Regions from separate parts of the Homo sapiens genome. Here region 2 is linked to region 1. The links are contacts of gene promoters, found by promoter capture Hi-C in human tissues and cell types (Jung and others, 2019). All regions are on one chromosome and are shown on one strand. The core of a region is centred on a gene start or on the middle of the fragment in contact, and the rest is flanking DNA. Distances in the headings are between cores, read along the strand shown.

Region 1 (2,536 bases), core at 27-2,526:
GTCCATGGGCGGGTGGCCCGCGCCGGCCGCAGGGGTCATGCGCTTCTCCTTCTGCCGCCGGTTGCAGAACCAGACGCGCACCACCTCCTTCTCCAGCTGCAGGCTGTCTGCCAAGCCGGTGATCTCGTGCGCCGAGGGCTTGGGGCACTTGAGAAAGTGGCTCTCGAGCGCGCCTTTGACCCCCACCTCGATGGACGTGCGCTTCTTGCGCTTGCGGCCCTGCGCCGCGATCTTGTCCAGGTTGGTGGGGCTGCCGCTGGACGAGTCGGTCTCCTCCAGCCACTTGTTGAGCAGCGGCTTGAGCTTGCACATGTTCTTGAAGCTCAGCTGCAGGGCCTCGAAGCGGCAGATGGTGGTCTGCGAGAACACGTTACCGTAGAGCGTGCCCAGCGCCAGCCCCACGTCGGCCTGCGTAAAGCCCAGCTTGATGCGCCGCTGCTTGAACTGCTTGGCGAACTGCTCCAGGTCGTCCGAGCTGGGCGCATCCTCGTCCGAGTGCTCGCCCACCGATGAGCCGCCGCCGCCCGCGCCCGGGTGCAGGTGCGCCGCCGCCGCGTGCAGGCCGCCCGCGTGTGCATGTCCGTGTGCGTGTCCGTGGGCGCCCAGATGCGGCGGCGGCGACGGCTCCAGCTGCGCCTCGTGGCCATCCTCGTGCAGCGCGTGGTGCAGGCCCGGCCCCGCGCCGCCACCGCCCGCCGCCAGCATCCCGGCCAGGCCGCCGCCGCCGCCCCCCGGGTAGGCCGCCTGCGCGTACAGCCCGAGCGGCTGGGGCTGGTGGCCCCCGCTGGCCCCGGGCGAGGGCGACATGGCCGGGCCCAAGTGGTGCGCTGTGCTGCCCTGCGCCCATGCCGCGCCCGCGTGGGCCGCCCCCTGGTGCACCAGGCGCGCGTGGAAACCTCCGCCGCCGCCGCCGTCGTCGGCTCGGCCGGTGCCGCCGCCGCCTGCCTTGCCGTGTTCTAGGTGCGGGCCGCCGGCCCAATCGCCGCCGCCGCCTCCTCCCGTGGGTAGCCACTGGGGGTGCGCTAGGCCCACGGGGTGGCCCGCGCCCGCGCCCAGCCACTCGTGGTGCATCAGCTTCTGCACTTCGCGGTACGCGGCCCCTGCATGCAATCGCTCCGCGGCCGCCGCCGCCGCCGCCGCCGCCGCGGCGTCCGGGTGCATAAGCGGCCCGGTGCCCCCGGCTCCGCCACCGGGGCCCCGCGGCAGGTACTGCGCGGTGGTGGCCATGCCGCCCCGCGCCCTGCGCCGCGCCGCCGCCGCCGCTCCGCTCCGTCTGCGGGCCCCGCCGCCTCGCTCCGCCGGCTTAAAGCCCCGACCCGCTCGGCGCTCCGGAGCCCCACCCCGCCCGCCGCCCATTGGCTGCCCGCGGAGCTGCCTCCCGCCTCCCCTGCCCGGCCCCCGCCCCGCGCGCCCGCCCGCCACCCTGCCCGGCCGCCCAGAGCTCTCCATTGGGCGTCGCTCCCGGGGTCCCGCGCGCCGGCCGTGCTGATTGGCCGCTGGGGCTTCATTCACGGCCCCCCTACCGTCCGCGTACACACTCACGCCCCGGGGGCGCGGCCGCCACGTGGGGAGTGGCGCGGGGGTGGCCCTGGGACCGCACCCCCTCTCGTCCTGGCTGTGTGGGCCCCGCTTTCCCCCAGCGCTGGAGACTCCGAGCCCGGCCGGTCCCACATTCCACGCGAGCTGAATTCCCGCCCGCATCCCGCCCGGGCAGCAGGGATTGCCGGCTCCGGGAGGCGCTCGGGCTCCGAGAAGCGGCTCAGCCCCGCGCCCCTCCCTCCTCAGTACCGCTGCCGGCGGACCAGGATTCCCGCGGGTCCTGGCGGCTGCGAGCGCGAGGCGGCGCGGATTCGCGGCTCGGTTCCGGCGCGACTGCTCACCGCGCCCGCCTCGCCTCCCGCGGCTGCCAGCGTGCACTGGGCGCTCCTCGGCGCGTCTGCCCGGCCCGTCTCGGCTTTCCTTCTCCTTCCTCTAGTCCCAGCGTCACAACTCCGCCGACCTCCTCTGCCCTGAGAGCGCGTCCGGTGCGGGCGGAGTCGGACGGACTCTGGCTTCACGCCTCGCGCGGGCACACCTTCTCCCGGGCACTGAGGCCCAGGTGAGTACCGCGCGGGCAGCTGGGGCTGGGACGGCGGGCGGCAGCGGTTCTACAGTCCTACGCGAGCCCCTGGTACCCGGCCGCGCTCCGGGGTTCCAGAAGGAGAAGATCTCGAGGTGGAGACTGTGGCTCCGGGGAAAACGCTGCTGGCAAGGGCGCTAGTTGGGGGTGGACGTTGGGCCCAGGGGTATCTGACCTGCGCCGCTGCAGCCTTCTCGCTCCTTCTCCCAGCTTGAACGGCTCATCGGCTGTGGTCGTGGTGGGATCACGCCCCGGGAGAGGAGAAGGATGGGCTCAGGGAAGGGGCTCGGGCTCTCCAGAAATCCGGCGTGCAGGCCGGGAGCTGTCCAGCCTCGCTAAGAGCCCTGGGCTAGAGTTTGCCCGGACTTGCCTGGAGCTGCTGAAAAGGGAATTGAGATTGAGGAGGCCTTGTTGGAA
Region 2 (2,536 bases), core at 21-2,520, 520 kb after region 1:
GGACACAAAAACATCTCTACCTTCTGATACAGAAGCTCTGTACTGCTGGATTCAGCACAGGCTAGAGAGAGGACTTCCATGTTGACCTGACCCCGTAGATTGTATTCCTTTGAGAAATGTCTTTCCATGCCTTCTCCACTCCCTTCCTCTGCTAAGCTGCCTTCCCTGACCAGATTCTTCACTTTTTTTTTTTTGAGATGGAGTTTTGTTCTTGTTGTCCAGGCTGGGTTGCAATGGCGTGATCTTGGCTCACTGCAACCTCTGCCTCCCAGGTTCAAACGATTCTCCTGCCTCAGCCTCCTGAGTAGCTGGGACTACAGGCATCTGCCACCATGCCCGGCTAATTTTTGTATTTTTAATAGAGATGGAGTTTCACCATGTTGGCCAGGCTGGTCTTGAACTCCTGACCTCAGGTTATCCACCTGCTTCAACCTCCCAAAGTACTGGTATTACAGGCGTGAGCCACGGCACCCGGCTGGATTCTTCACATTCTGGTGCATCCAGTGGCACACATTTGCACAGCAACAAGAGCAAAGGCCTCCACACCCTCCACTGCTGCCCCCCACAACCGCCACCAGCCCTGCTAGGTGGGAAGGGAAAGCCTTAATATCCCCATTTTATGCACCAGGAAACCGAGGCTCAGAGGCGTGTGCCTGGCCCACCATCACACAGCTAATGAACAGCAGGGCCTGGATTTGTACGAGTCAAAACCTTTTTTTTCCTTTTTTATTTGATCACATGCTATCTCTAGATAGAGATGCCATATTCTGTTTATAATGACCATCCAGTTAGTGTGGAGGCTCTACCCCTCCCAGGACAAAGAGATGCCTGTGGACAGTGTCCTAGTGACTTCTTATCCCATGGGAGCGTGTAATGTGGAAAGAATTTAGGAACTCCCTGCTGAAGGGCCAAAGTGCAAAACATGCCTGTGATGTGGGCATCGGCAACTCTGAATGCCCCCTTATATATGACAGGTCACCTGCCCCCTTTGCCGAGGTCTCTCAGGATGCTTGGATTTCTATATTTTCTTCCGAGACCCTGGTACCCACCTCCAAACTGCATATCTTTAATTGGCAGGTCCCCTTCCTTACTTTTCACCCATTTCCTTGTGGCCAAGGACCATCTCCACTCCTCCAGAGGATGGCACAGCATGGGAAATGAGGCTTTGGGCCTAGCAGATCTGGGTTCCAATCCTAGCTCAGCCTCTTTAATAGTTGTGTGACTGCTGGCAGTTACTTAACTGCTCTGAGCTCAGTTTCCTCCTCTGTAAAACCAGGATAATACATCAAAGGTTTTTTTTTTTGGTTGTTTTTTGTTTTTTTTTTTTTTTTTACATGAAGCTAATGACCTATGAGTATCAAGATTCTTCACTCAGGCCTCATTTAGCTGGAATTCAGAGTGATCTGAAGCTAATGCTATACAGTGGTCAAAAGCAAGTCAGACCACCTGGGTTCAACTCCCAGATCCTGCACTTATTCACCTGCTGTGTGACTCTGGGAAGTTTACTTGACATCTCTGAGCTTCAGATTCCTCACCAGTAAAATGGAGATAAAAACAGTGCCTAACTCGCGGGGCTGCTTTGCACTGAAAAGCCATCACTCACATTAACAGCTTAGCACAGTGTCTGGAACTTGACCAGTGCTTAGTAAATGTTTGCCATGAATTATTAGCCATTAGTAATGTATTAGTGAATTGGTGGGCAGCTCTACAAGGAGCAAATTTGCATAAGGTTTTGACTATAGGAATGGGAAGGTAAACAAGACATTGGTCTCAGATCTTGGTCTTTGGGGCTGTCTGGCATCTGATCCCTGTTGAGGGACTAAGCAGCAGGCAGAATGAAGGTGAAGAGCCATTTTCACACACCAAGTTACAAAATGTGACACAGGATGGTTTAAGGCAGTGGCATTTCCAGGAAATATAAAGCATCTATTTATTGAGCAGCTATTATGTTCCCAGGCCTGTGCTTGGTGCTGAGGTTGAGTGGTGAGCCGGAGATGCAGCCCTGCCCTCGTGCAGCATGGAATCTGGTGCTGCTTGTGGGTCTGCACACCAGGGCACTTCCCTCAGGGTGAATTCTAGCAATCTTGCGGGGGCCCAGCAGCCTCTGCCAGTTCCAGGCTGCAGATATTCCTGGAGGAGTTTGGAGAAGCAGAACATCAGAGAACAATTACCCGCCTCACAAAAGACACCCCAGAGGGCTTCCAGAAGTAAGAGGGTGAGATCGTGAAAGGGCAGGTGGGAGCGCGAGGGTGCATTCAGGGCTGTGATGGTGGAAGGGTGGCATTACGACCTGATGACCAGTGAAACCTGGGGCAGTTAAGGATCGGAATGTGGAGCACCTGATACGAGGCACAGCACTCCGTCGAGGAGGGCTGCTTTCTGCCCCTCGCAGGGCCTGCCCACAGACACAGACACACTCAGCACCCTCCACATTCATTCTACATGCATGTGTTCAAAACACACAGCCAGCACACATGGAGCATTCCACAGGGTGCACACAGGGATACACCTCACAGTGTACTCAGAAGACACATAC

Evidence for each region. The method cuts DNA at HindIII sites, captures the fragments that hold promoters and counts their contacts. A contact is called where the count stands out against the background at its distance.
Region 2: a fragment that was not itself captured here is called in contact with the fragment with the promoter of POU3F1 in region 1 in 1 of the 25 tissues and cell types used here (spleen).

The regions. Positions count from the first base shown.
Region 1 is chr1:38,045,517-38,048,052 of GRCh38, forward strand. It overlaps POU3F1 (POU class 3 homeobox 1), which reads right to left and starts at 1,277. Exons shown (of 1, transcript NM_002699.4): 1 at 1-1,277. The coding sequence starts at 1,227. MIR3659HG (MIR3659 host gene) reads left to right here and starts at 1,618. Exons shown (of 5, transcript NR_168386.1): 1 at 1,618-2,098. RefSeq lists a silencer at 1,338-1,667 and enhancers at 1,580-2,080, 2,081-2,536. The HindIII fragment of the contact is 7,503 bases long and covers 1-2,536 here.
Region 2 is chr1:38,566,750-38,569,285 of GRCh38, forward strand. No RefSeq gene overlaps it. Among named protein-coding and RNA genes, the nearest start is that of LINC01685, 93 kb to the left of the region's middle. RefSeq lists an enhancer at 1,637-2,244. The HindIII fragment of the contact is 7,584 bases long and covers 1-2,536 here.